2 separate regions of the Homo sapiens genome follow, and region 2 is linked to region 1. The links are contacts of gene promoters, found by promoter capture Hi-C in blood cells and fetal thymus (Javierre and others, 2016). All regions are on one chromosome and are shown on one strand. Each heading gives the region's core, a stretch centred on a gene start or on the middle of the fragment in contact. The rest is flanking DNA. Distances are from core to core; before and after follow the strand shown.

What was found. Contacts are between HindIII fragments. The CHiCAGO score rates a contact against its expected background, and 5 or more counts as called.
Region 2: the fragment with the promoter of ZBTB18 here is called in contact with the fragment with the promoter of KMO in region 1 in 1 of 17 cell types (monocytes); the score reaches 8.6 in monocytes.

Annotation. Positions count from the first base shown.
Region 1 is chr1:241,528,769-241,535,724 of GRCh38, forward strand. It overlaps KMO (kynurenine 3-monooxygenase), which reads left to right and starts at 3,610. Exons shown (of 15, transcript NM_003679.5): 1 at 3,610-3,730. The coding sequence starts at 3,677. RefSeq lists an enhancer at 3,193-3,342. The HindIII fragment of the contact is 7,761 bases long and covers 1-6,956 here.
Region 2 is chr1:244,046,642-244,053,597 of GRCh38, forward strand. ZBTB18 (zinc finger and BTB domain containing 18) reads left to right here and starts at 4,642. Exons shown (of 2, transcript NM_205768.3): 1 at 4,642-4,803. The coding sequence starts at 4,791. It overlaps LINC02774 (long intergenic non-protein coding RNA 2774), which reads left to right. Exons shown (of 12, transcript NR_033883.1): 12 at 251-676. It overlaps LOC124904570 (a long non-coding RNA gene), which reads right to left and starts at 1,600. Exons shown (of 2, transcript XR_007066975.1): 1 at 1,370-1,600; 2 at 1-956. RefSeq lists enhancers at 1,281-1,440, 3,651-3,700, 5,417-5,918 and silencers at 1,611-1,730, 3,881-3,970. The HindIII fragment of the contact is 5,583 bases long and covers 1-5,577 here.

The DNA of each region.
Region 1 (6,956 bases), core at 2,360-4,859:
GAGAGAGAGAAACTACCATGATTGTGGTGAAGAGAAAAATCCACCATTCAGTCAACAGGAAAGAAAGACAAAAAGGAATGAAGGAAGGAAGGAAAGAAGGAAGGAAGGGACTGTCATTGCGATTGGGTGAAAAGAAAAATCAAAAAATCTACAGACAAAATCAATAGAATTAATAACTTTTGCAATGCTGCTGCATACAAGCTCACAAAATGGAAAATAATGTGTTTCTAAATACTATTAATAGTAGAAAATGAAATGAAAGATATTATTTACAATAAAATTTAAAAAATCAATTACCTAAACATAATAATAGGGGATCAAACCTCTACAGGGAAAGAATATAACTTTGTAAGCCTTGGAGATGACAAACAGATGGTGGGGAGGGGCATATCATATTCTGAATGGAAAGACGCAGTAGTCAAAATAGTTATTCTTTCCAGATAGATGTATAACTTCGAAGCAATCCCAGTCAAAAATCCCAACCATATTTTTATTTTAGGGATTTTTAAAATGGAATTAACAGGCTGATTCTAAAACAGATGGAAATACAAAGCACCAAGAATAGTCAATACATTATTAATGAAGGACAAGGTGGGTGAATTGATGAAGATATTAAGGATTGTATTAAAGCTATTGTAATTTGGCTTTGGAACTGGCATTAGTAGGTATAGTATGGGCAGTATAGACTATATGGAATGAAATAGAATAGAAACCTGGAACGAGACCCACACATATATGAACACTGGACCTACACCAAAGGCAATGCGGGAAAAGGAAAGTCTTTTCATTTATTGGTACAGGGAATATTGGGTATTCATTTGGAAAACAAATAAAATTTTGACATCTATATCACAGCATTCCAAAAACAAAAAAACTAACTCCATGTTGATCATAGACCTAAAAATGAAAGGTAAATTATAACTATTTTAGAAGTCAACATGGAAGAATATCCTCATGACCTCAAGATTATACAAAAAAAGTGATAAAACATGACATGAAAAACTCTAACCACAAGGGAAAAGAATGTATTAAATGAAGAATATTCTTTCATCAAAAGACACCACTAGGAAAGCAAAAAGGCAAGCCACAGAGTGAATGAAATGTTATTTGTGACATATCTAAGTACTAAAGTTCATATGCAATGGGACTCAAAAAAGGAAAAAAAAATTCCCACCCTCCCCCCCCAAAAATTAACACTACCTATACAGAAGAAGAAAAAGAAGTTGTGAATGAACAGGTAAAAATGTGCTCAACTTCACTGATAATCAAAGGACTGCAAATTAAAAGAACACTGAAATATAAAGCACATCTACCAGACTGGCAAAAATTAAAAATTCTTGGCAATACATACATTGGTGAGGATACAGCAGAAGACAAATTTTACACATTGTGTTAAGTAAAAGCTAATGCACTACTTTGGAATGTAACTTTCGTTTATTCAGAAAGGTTAAAAATATGCATAAACATGGCTGGGCGCAGTCACTCACATCTGTAATTCCAGCACTTTGGGAGGCTGAGGCGGGTGGACCACTTGAGGCCGAGTTCAAGACCAGCCTAGTCAACATGGTGAAACCCCATCTCTACTGAAAAAATACAAAAATTAGCTAGGCGTGGTAGCAGGCACCTGTAATCCCAGCTACTCGGGAGGCTGAGGCAGGAGAATCAGTTGAACCTGGGAGGCAGAGGTTGCAGTGAGCCGAGATTGCACCATTGCACTCCAGCCTGGGTGACAGAGTGAGACTCCATCTCAAAAAAACCCAAAAAACAAAAAACAAACAAAAAAGCATAAACAGCATATGAAACCTAGAGATACTCATACATATGTACATGACATTGTATACACAAGAGTGTTTATGGCAACACCATTATTCATGATATTAAAAATTTGGAAACACCCCAAATGTCCATCAACAGCACAATGGACAAATAATAAATGACGATAAAAATGAATGAACTGGAAAAACATGCAACAACACAAATGGATCTTAAGAGATATAATATTGAGAAAAAGAAGCAAGTTGTAAAAAAATAAACAGTATAAGTTCATTTATAGGAAAGTTCAAAAAAGTCAACACTAAACTATTTTAGGGATGCATCTATCATGGTACAATTATACATAAAAGCAAAGAAAGTTGGTATGGCAGTTACCTCTACGAAGGAGGGGTGATTAACAGGGGGCACGTTAGACTTCTGGGATTCTGGCAATATTCTCTCTCTGCACCTAAATGGTAGTTACATGGATACTTGCTTTACAGTAACTTATTATACTGTTCATTTGTGTTATAGTTCATAATTTTTAAAAGATTTTTTAACAATGATACATATTGATACTGAGGAATTGATACATATTCTCTACATATTGATATTGAAGAATTCTCAAGCTATATGTTGTAAAGTGAGAAATATGATGTGGAAAAAGTTTTTAAATGTATGTTTAAAAAGAAAGGAAGGAAGGGAATGAGAGAGTGAGAGAAAGAGAGAGAGAAAAGGAGAGAGAGGAAGAACAAGAAAGACATAATCAACGTGTAGAAGAATACGGTAACCCACACACCAAAACAGTTGTTGTCTTTGGGCAGGAGGAATAGGTGGCCAAGGGTCAAGGTTAGCAGGATTACTATTCACCGTGTACTCTTTTGTGTCTTTAATTTCATGCCATGTTAATGTATTACCTATTCAAAATAAATAAAATACCTAATCATGCTTATCCACAAGGGGTCACTATTGAATGCCATTTAACTCTAGTTCCTAACCAGGGAAAAAAACGTTCTGAATTCTTTATGTGCTTAACAGGAAGTGAAGAAACAACTTCATTTATGTTCTTATTTTACATTACACCACATCATGTTCCAGAAAACAATTGCCATTCGCAAATCATGCACAAAAGTATAACATTTAAAACGGAGTGAAAAAGACAAAAAAGTGAATAGATAATATGAAGTCGGGAATGAGTTTACAGAAGCGTTGTGTCAGTCATCTCCCCTAGTGGTAATTAGACTCTAAATTTTCGATTCTAAAATTAGATTCTAAATTTTCTAGCATCTGGGCTGAAAAAAAAAAGGGGAAGTATGGTCAGTTACACAATTCAAAATGTTGATCGGGAGAATATTAAGACCTTGCAGAGAATTTTCCCTGGTAGAGCCTGTTAAAAACAATCCATGAGGACCCTTTAGATGAAATTTTTGATTGGTCTTAACCACAAAAATGATCCACAGATGAATTATGAAACCATGTCATCTTACTCTCTAAGGGAGGTATAAGATGTTTTTGGACTTCAGATGAGAAGGGCTCCATTCATGGTTAATCATGAATGAAAACGAAACTAAGAATATATGCTGTAGAAAAAGAAGAAGAAAAGCCACAAGACTGCTTAAAAATTTCTGTGTCTTACACAGAAGATAGAAAAAATAGAGTGTCTCCAATTGGATGGATTTTTTAAAAAATTTGGTTATTGTAATGGATTTATTTTTTCTTAGAGCTGAGCTGATTGTACTTTGGCCAACTAATGGGTTAATACTGTCAAGGGAAATTAGCCCTGACTAAACATTGCCGCTGGCTCATGAATGCACTAGGCTTGGGGCAGTATAAAAACTCAGAGAAATCAGTGTGTAGGAGACACAGAAATCAGTGTCACTCAGTGACAGAAGCAACAATAATTGTGAAAAATACTTCAGCAGTTATGGACTCATCTGTCATTCAAAGGAAAAAAGTAGCTGTCATTGGTGGTGGCTTGGTAAGAATTTTCAGATGGATTACTATTGTTGGTGGTATTATATTAACTATTATTACTCGTAATGATTATTATTCGTCACTTCTGCAAATTGTTAATTTTCTTGTGAAAACTCTGATATTTAAATACAGCTATTTTGTTTATTTTTTTAATATTTTTATTTTCATAGATTTAATATAGTATGAGTTTTAATCTGTTCTTTTTCAGGAAAGGTATTTTATAGCCATTAAATACAAAGGTTTCTGTTTTCCCTCATCATTTTGGTTTAGGATTTGTTAAAAAGCAAAAATAATGCAAATTGAATTTGATTTTATCCCCAAATTGGCTATGTTTTTAGGAACAGGAATTAGTCTCAATATTCATTTTAATAAAAACATTTGTTCCGCTTTGTTTAATAACTCAGTTAATGCTGTCTAATGAGAATAAAAGGGTCAAGAAACATGAAGCTAACGTCAAAGTATCATGTTGAATGTTCACTAGTTATATGAGTAATTGGGAATAAGATTTATGTGGTCGCCTGACTTACTTGACTCTTCCAGTGGAGCACCTAAGACAGTGGAGTGAGGTGTTCACCTCTCACTGAGCACGTGACGTAAAGGTGCTGGGGCTTCCCCCATACCTAACAAGACGGAAGGAGAGGTCACTCTCTGCTTTCATAGTTATGGTGCCAAAGGTAGTTCTGTTTAACATGGGTCTGCTCCGATTCAACTTTGCTTTTTCCCATCTCAGCAGAATTTCTGTTTCAGAATACAAACATCCCAGTTAGTCAAGGTTAAATCATTTCCCTATCACCTTTGGTCAAATCATTTGGAGACTTTTCATTAATTATTCATATATCCACTCAACAAAAAATTTATTGAGGGCGTAACACTGTTCTAGGCTGAATATAGATGGTATATTTTATGCCACACATGTATTTATACAGTATATGCTGTCTTTTGTTCTGCCTTCCTTAGTGTCTTTTCCCCAAAGTGCTAGAACAGTTCTTTTAATATTTCTGATTCTAAATTTTCATTTAGAAATGCTATCACATGATGTGTTGGTCACTGGTTGGGACATGTGTCGTCACTGCTTCATACTAGGCTTGTGTCCAATCTGTCCTATCAAAATGTTGCACAAAATGAGAATTCATGTGTTCAACAAAATCTGATTACTATGTACCAATATTGTTTTAGGTAGTAGGGATGCGAGGGTGAGAATTCCAGAGAAGAAAAAGACAAGGAAGAAGAAAACAAATAAGACAATTTCAGTTAAAGAGAAGCACTATGAAAGAAACGAAAACAGGGTAGTGCTGTAGAGAGTATCTTTGGGAGTACCTGTTTAGAATGTGGTCAGGGACAGCTGCTCTGCTGAAGGGACATGTGACCAGAGACCTGAATGATCAGATAGAACTAACTACGTGAAGATCTTGAGAAAGAGCATTTCAGGCAGAGGGAACAGCAGGAAGAGAAACCCTCAGGCAATAATGAGCTGCCCAAGTTCAAGGAGCAGAAAGAAAGGCAGGAACTGCCTGAGGCCAGAGAAGAGTAGCTGATGAGGCCAGAAAAGCTGACAGACCAGATCTTGTAGGATCTTAGAGGTCCAGGCAAGAAGATCAGATTTTGTTCAAATTACAATGGGAAACTATTGGAGGATTTTAGGCAGGAAATTAAGTTGTGATTTTAAAAGGTCCCTTGGACCATTATGTGGAGAATGACTAGGAACATTTTAAGATGACAAGATAGACCAGTTAGGAGGCTGTTACGTTAGCTCAAGACTTGGACTAAGGTGGCAGCAGTGATGTCTCATTTTAAAAATTGTCTCTTAGAAATCCAAGGGAGAGATAACAAATATGTGATTGTATATATGGTTTTGGGGGGCATAAAAATGTGGGTGTCATCCATGGATTTCTCCCTGAATAACATGAGATTGTCATCATGTAACCACGTCATACATATGCTGGAAAATAGGAGACAAAAATTACTACTTGCGTATTAGGGAGCAACTAAAATTCCTCTGCAAAAGAATTCTATCCATCCTATTGTTCAAGTCCATGCTTACGCATCATGTTTGATTCCTATTGTCATTTTGTGCAAACGCTTATTCTTCTTTCACTCCATCAGTAAGCCTTGAGGCTCTATATCCAAAATACATTTAAATTCTAGCCATTACAACCATCCTGGCCCAAGCCATTATCATCCGCCATCCTTATTCCTGCAACAAGCTCCAAATTAGTCTCCCAGCTTTAACTCCTTTTCCCTTATAGTCCATACTACACACCACAGCCAGAAACACCCTTCTAAAACATGAGTCTGATCATTATCATCCCCTGCTTAAAATCTTCCAATGATCTCCCATTACAAATAAAATAAAACCCAAACTCTTTACCAAAGGTCTTGTCTGAACTAAGCCTATCTGCCTTTCTGGCTTCACCCCTTTCCCTTTTTATTTGTTAATCTTATCTACCAGTATCGGAAATTACACACTTTGGGTTTTTTTTTTTAACCTGTTTCTTAGATATCTACTCCAACTAGGATATAAACTCTTATTAACCAATGTATTCCAGAGGCTGTAATTATGCCTAACATTATGTATTGGGTGGATGAATAAATGAGAGGAATGAGAAAACTTAATGATATAAAGGTGAAAAAATAATAACAGATGCATGTTTGAATATTGAGAAAATTATTTTTAAAAGTATTGACTAAATAGAGCAATTCAAGAAGGTTAATGTCTTTACATAGAGGACAAGATTACATTTTTGCCCATCTTCTTCTGTTTTTTTTTCCACCCTCCCTTCCTACCTCCTCCTTTCCATAAACCATATCCCAGTACCTTATACTGTCTAACACATTAAAGGCTCTCCCCTGGCCCCTAGAAAAAAAAATGAGAGTTGAGAACCTTTACTTAGACATCCAAAAAATATAGTGAACTTCCCTCAATTCTTATCAGTGGTAGCTTACCATGTCTAGTAAACTTGCCTAATGAAAAGTCACCCTGAGAAGTTATTCTTGCTCTGATGTAGTGATCATCTGATATTGGGTTAAACCAGTTGATTTCCTTTCTTTGAAGACATGTTCAGTCAAAGAGATCAACAAACCAGTAAAAAAACTCCTAATGAGAAACAAAAGGTAAAAGAAACTAAACCATAATCATAAACCAGGTAAAGTTTAAATATTGAAAAACAAGTGGGAAAAGATGTTAAAATAGCATTTCAAGAACATTGACCTAAATATTTAGAAAGACCCCT
Region 2 (6,956 bases), core at 3,392-5,891, 2.5 Mb after region 1:
TTGTAGATAATCCGAGTGTACTAATATTTTCATGAATTAATATCCTGACACTATCAATTACTTTCTGTCTACTCATGTAGAGATCTGTCACTCTCCTTAATTTTAACTTTTAGTAGATGAGAAACAGCTTTGATAACGCAAACATTTCTTTTTCCCTGAATTAGTTGGTGAAACATATACTTTTCACATCTCATTTTGTGTGCCTGTATATTTCATTCGTGAATAACATTTATTCCTTACCTTGAAACAGGTCAGACTGAAATTGGGCCTTCTACCACTAGACTGAAAAGACCTAGAATTCATCGACAGCACAGATACAACAAAAGCCTTCATGGAATACAAAAACTCCAATTTTCATAGGATATCCTTGACCTCAGTGATGAATCATGAGGGCGTAGAGGGTTGAGAAAAAAGTAGGCACATCACTACTGTTTCTAACCAGATATCTCGAAGCTATTTCAGTTCCAGGAATTCTGTCTGCTCCTGTTTTTACTTCATTAGCAATTCAACATGTCTGATTTGCCCACACAATACTTTCCAGCTACTTTACCCATTTGACCTGGAACAAAGTGAAAGCACATTTTGCCCAGTTGAAAGGTCTCCTGGCAGGTTGGTTAGCAACAGGCTTGCCAGTCTGGGTTCTGTTAGCAAAGAATAAACACATTTCATTAGACAATGACTAGTGGACTGACTTCCTCACTATGAAGTTGTTTTTTTTTTTCTATTTTATTTTCTTCAGCCATTCCCCCTCCCCCACCACTTGTTATTCAACTTTTTACTTGTAATTCTTGCCTCGATACGATTTCCAATTTCTTGACGGCAGACATTTCCACGTCTTTGTGGCTGTGATTAACGCAGTCTAATTGCCAAGAACAGGTACCGAGTAAAAGTTTATTTGAAGGAAAGAAAAGCGACACAGCAGTCTTACATCGTCCCTCGGTAGTTTAAAGTTGTGGCTAGATACGTATCAATTAAGGAATCAAGCTGAGGCATCTGCAAGTACCAATTTTACTGTAATGCTCTAAAATTTGGTCACTTGGGGAAGTCTTTACTTGTAACAGTGTAAGTACACAAGGGACAGGAGGGTTTTGCGAGAAAGGCGGGCGCTCTGCCCTGTTCTGCCCGTGACATGATGACGTAAGAACGACTCCCAGAAACTGCCTGAGTCGCCTGCGTCCCCAGCTCCCCGATGTGCACCTGGGCGCGGGACGCCGCAGGACGGAGCGAGAGCGCTCCTCGGTCCCGCTCCCCTGCGCACGGGCCGGCGAGGACCCGGGCGTCTTCACCCCCACAGGAAGGAGCAGAGAGAGCCACCCGAAGTCGGCCTCGAGTCATCCGTGTCCCCGGGTGCCCTGCCTCTCCAGGATACCTGCGTAACTCGCAGCAGCCAAGCCCCACTACGTTCAAAAGTGTGTTTGTGGTTGTCACAGTGCACACCGAAAAGCTCGCTCCGCACCCGCAGAGTGCGCGGGGCCTCTGAGCCTGGAAACAAGCCCCTCCCAGCGCAGCTGTCGCCGCCGCCTGCGGGCTCCTTTCACTTTCTCACGGCCAAGTCACCCAGAGGGGCGCCGCTGCTGCCACCGCCGCTGCGCCCGAGGACTCCGCCCCGCGCCGCTTCGCTCCGGATCCCCGCCCGCCCGAGCCCCGCCCACCCCAACAGTTGCTGCCTGCGATTGGAACGCGCGGGAGGGCAGCTACGGCTCGCCACCCCCATTGGCTGGGCCCCCTTGTCAGTCCGACGACTGCCCACCACCCCCTCCGCCTTCCCGAAGAGCCGCCTTCCCATTGGAGGAGTCTGAGGGCTGGGGGCGGGCGGGGAGCGCCGGTCCAGCCGCTTTCGGTCAATCGCAGAAGCCCAACGCCCGGAGGGAGGGAGGCAGGGGAAGGAGAGGGGCGGACTGAGGGTGGGGGGAACATCTGGCCGGCGCCGCCGCGTGCGTGCGTGGTGCGTCCTCCCGCCCCCTCCCCTCCCCCTCCCCCGCGCCCGCCCCCCCCCCGCCCCCGCCCCCCCACCCGGCCCGGCGGCTCCGCGCTCGCTCCCTCGCTCGCTCCCTCGCTGTGTCTGGCAGGCTGCGGCCGCCGCTGGGCTGCTGCCATGGGGAGCCGTTGAGAGTGGGGCCCTCTTCGCTCCGCCGCGCTCCTCCGGCTGCCAGCGGGGGTGGGCGGGAGGGAGGGGCGGGGGGGAGCGGGCGACGGAGCCGGGATTGGGGGGTGGGGGGGCCGGGAGGGAGGGGGGCAAGAGCCGGAGGAAGCCCACCAAGTCCGGCGGCGGCGGCGGCGGCCGGGAGGAGGAGGAGGAGGAGGCGGAGGACGCGGCGGCGGCGGGGACGCGGTGACTTAGGGCCGCTCCGTGTGAGTCCCGGCGCCGGCCCCTGGCCCCTGACCTGGCGCCCCCTCCGCGCCCCGGCACCCCGGCGGGCGGGGGGCGCCAGCTGTGCGGCCCCGGCCGGCTGGGCGGCGCGGGCGGAGGGCGGGCCGGGTCGGGGGCGCCCCCGCGAGTGGAGTTAGTTTGTGTGGTTGGAGCTGTTGGGGCGGCGGGGGGCGGCGCAGCTGCGGGAGGCCCGGGCGCGGGGACGGGGCCGCTGCAGCTGCGGGGTCGGGCGGGGTGCGGGTTCCCGGCTCCGCGCCGCGCCCCCGCGGGCCGGTGCAGCTGCGGCGCGGGGCGGGCTCCCGGCCGGTGCAGCTGCGGTGGCGCCTCTCGGGTGCGGAGGGCGGCGGGCTGGGGGAGGGGGCTTGGGAGCAGCCGCAGCTGCAGTGGCGCCCGGGACGGCCGCGGCTCCGGGGACCGGTGCAGCTGCAGTGGCGCCCGGGGGAGGGGGCCGGCGGGGGAGGGGGCCCTCCCGGGCTGGTGCAGTTGCCCGGAGGCCCCGGGGGCTCGCGCGTCGCGGCATCGGGGAAGCGGTAGCAACCACTCTCCTCCCGCTGGCTGCTTCTTACGACTTTTCTTTTGTTGTTGCCGTGACCCGGGTCTGTTTTCTCCTCTGTTGTTTAAGGTGTTTTCCTGCTGCACCGGCTCTGCGCCCTCCACCTCCTTCCCTGTGGTTTTAACCTTCCTCTTTCCCCGTGTGTTTTATGCACGGCGAACTACGTAAAGATTTGCATTGCTTCCCCACTCGGCACCCCCGCCCCCACCTCTCTGAAAAACAAAACCCCAACCTCACAAAACCTCTATGGATCCGCGGTAGCGAGACGTGAAGGGGTTGATTTGTGGAGTGGGAGTTGCTGGCCCATTGCGGTGCCCGGGACTCATTAAACTGTCACTCACCCCCCACCCCACTGGGTAAATGGGGTGATTAATGTCTGATATATTGGAATGGGTCGAGGGCATTTGTGGAGAATAGGTGGTGTGGCTGGGAAGAAATTGATCTCCCGAGGATGTCTCCTGGACTAAGTGTTCATAATTATGTCACTCACCGCGAAGTTGGAGAAAGTTAGGTTTGTGACTTTGGGAAAGCGAGAAGGACAGGACGGAGTCGTCGGGTTTTGTTACTCTTTAACTCTCCGCCACGGCTTTCTAATGGGAACGAAGTGGTTATCACCAGGGCTGGGACGCTGGCGCCTCAGGCCCCAGTTCCTTTTCTACCCCTCGCCCTCCCAAGAGTCTGAGGAGATGTATTTGACATTCAGAGATGTCGCAGCACCCTGCCCGGTACCGGTCAGCCCAGCCCGGGTCGCGTTACAGTTTCATCAGCTATTAGAAAAGACCCACAAACTGGCTGAAAAGTTCTCAAACTTACTAGACCTGGCTTCCCCCCACACAAAGATTTTCTTGTGATCATAAACATTAGAGTGACCCCCCCCCAAAGAAAAAAAAGATTGTTAAGGGACACAGATCAAGGGGAAGGCAAGGTTCTGCTTTTTCTGAGCAGAAAGATCAGATATGCAGGTGCAGCATTCATTTTAAGTGACTGGAGCAGGTTGTATCAGTTTATTAATTGGTCTCGTTGAACTGAAGTACTTTCCAGGATTTCAGAAAGTGCAGTTTCAGCTTGTTGGTACCGAGAATTGAAATTTGCATTGACTGTGGCAGTGTAAGAAATTTTTCTGAGAAGGTAGTTGTAGATAAGTAATTACATAAGAGTGAAATAATAAGGTGAACCAGTCTGAAGTAATAGTTCTGAACAAGTCTGCCAACATTTGAGACATGTATACCATTATCTCAGCAGAAAAAAATAAAAAAGTGCGGTAATAATGTTGAAATGGGACTGGAGATGTCAAATGGGTTGGTTTAAAAATATCCCTAAACTGCTTTAGAAACTAAACGTTGGAGTTGAATAAAAGTGAATCTGGATTTCCTGAATAGCACCGTGGCTTGAGTGTGCTGTCAGTATGTAAGCCAGTCCACCAACTTAAGACAGAAGTGTTGCTATTCCATAAATACAGTAGAACTCCATATGCTGAGTTTTTCAATTTCTTCTGTTAGAAAGTTTGGAAAAAAAGGAAGACTTTGAAGTATTTTGTTTATACTAACAGAAGAGAAAAGTTCTCCTAAGAAAAAGCTGGTGGCAGGAGTGTAGAGGAGTAGCATATGGCATTAAAAGGAGCACAGCTGGAGGTAGCATTTCCATCTGAACATGATGTCAGAGCAGCTGACAGCCTGCCATCCCTCAGCCTTTTATTCTAACACACAGACAGGGAGTTAGTGTGTGCGGATCTGTGGTGGAGAAGGTATCTCATTCCTCTCTAACATCATCTCCACTTTGCATCTGTCTCTCTTAGTCTGCTTTTTTTCCACCGATGTAACAGACCTGGAGCCAGCAGGACTCAGAGGAAAGGACTTAATCAGGTTTATGTGTCCTAAAGGTAGGAGTAGCAAGAGATTAGATTGAGCATATTTCTGTTTTGGTGTTTTGTTTATTTAATTTTAAAAATCACATTACTTTTCTAACCCAGTTTAGGAATAATATATGAAATTGAGTATTAAATGAACATCTTACTGGAGTTGAAAGTCTTGAGCTTGTTTAGTTTTAATTTTTTATCCCTTTTACTTGAGCGAGTAAATAACTTTAATACACAAATATTTCAAGTTTTGAAATGTTAAGAAAGGCTTTAAAATGCTGCTTTTGGAAATCACGTTGGATTAAAATGCTTTTTTGTTGTTCACTGCTATTTAGATTTGATTGGGGTGGTGGTGGTGGGGAAATAGTAAACTGGAATCCAGCATTCAAACTTATATGAGAAGATTATTCTAGTTAAGCAGCTAGATTGTTGTATAATTAATTCCTCTGTGAAACTTTATTCTTCAAAACATTGAGCAGCACTACTGAAACATACAGCTGTAGTGCTGTTGAAACTGCAGGTTTTTAAGAAGAAGAAAAAAAAACCAAACTTTTGTCCCCAGGAGAATAGTTTGACTGGTTTCCTCATTTCTCTTTCAAATATATATTTAAGAGATCTTTTATTTCAGCATAACAATAATTATTTGCAGGAGTTTTTGTGTTAGCGACTAATTTAGAACTTGTAGATTTGAGCTGCCTGAATTGGCCAGACAGCTGTAATCGCACTCCTCTATTCTTAATCTCTTTATCTGGGCAGCAGCTGCCATATGGCCACAGTCAGCTGGATCAGATGTTTATAAGCTTCCTTCTTCGTCCCTCTCTGTCCTCTCAGCCTCCTAATTTGATCACGGCTACCTTGTGAGCTGCCCTCCAATCTTTATTTTTAGCCTTCTCAAGGATTAGGATTGATGTTAGCTGTGGGGCACTTAAAGTGATTGTATTGTAAATCTTAGTTTATTCTAGCAGTGGCATCTTGCAGAATGTGTCTGGGGTTAGGATAAAGTTTTAGTCTGTCTTGGGCAAAGTGTAGAAGAACAAGAAGAAAGGAAGTAATTTCTGAATATTAAATTAAGTGTATCTATTCCCAAAATGCACTTGCTGAGATGGGTGGTGTGGAGGCTTGCTTCTGGTCACAGGAAAGGGGAAGTCGGGTCTTCTTTATTTTTCAGGAGTTTACCCACTGCAGTTGAATTCTGACCCTTTGTACATCTTTGCCTTTCTCCTCCCTCCATTTCACTTTCCCTCATCACAAAACAAGGGCAATGATGAATATTTGCAAGAATAGAAGCTAGTGGGAAAACAGAAATATATCAAATTATATTGAAACAAAGTATTTTCTGTTGGCTGAGGTAAGGCAGAACCAGGAAAAAAAAAAAGGTTCTCTTTTTCTAAAAAGGCTTAAAAAAAAACGTTGAACCTGTAAAGCTTTTGAGTTTTATTTAAGCGCTGTATGCCTTTATTTTTAAAAGTTTGAATTAATTTCAATATGAAACTCATTTTGCCTTGCAACGGATCAAAGTTTAGATGAGAATTTTCGGAGTTCAGTAAAGCCCCTCTGGTTCCTAATATTCTGAAAGTACAGTTTCTACAAAGAAATGTAACTACTTTTTTCTCAGTTCGTTTTGAAAAATCTTTGGATTTGTTCATAGTAAAGATGATCTTTTCCATCTGTTGGTGCAGCTCCTTCTGATCTCGTACATGTGTGCTATACCTGCAAATCTGAAGGCATTAACATCTGTTTTTATACACAGGGCTTTTGTTGTAACACCCTGACTTTAAAAGTAAGTTGTTTGCTAATTTCTGGACTAATTATGCAATTTCATTTTTTTTTCTTGATTCAGCCAAATGTGTGTGTGTGTGTTTAAACTGTGCTTTCTAAGCACAGTCAGGTAGCAAAAGTAATAAAAAGGATGGTTGAACAAGTTTTCTTGTATGTTCCAGGATATGTTTGGGACTTTTCTTTGTTTATTATATGAGTTGTTCCCTTTGAAATTAAAGCTATTTTGTAGGTTTTGTGGGACATAATTTGATAAGTAGAGTTAATTAAATTTCTTCTGGAAGAGATCTAAATTCTTATTCTTAGTGAGAGACTGTAGTTAAAGGAAGGCTTTTAGAACTTGGGTTCAAGGAAGATGGAGATGCGTCGGAAGCTCTTTGGCGGGGGTGAGGAAGTTCAGA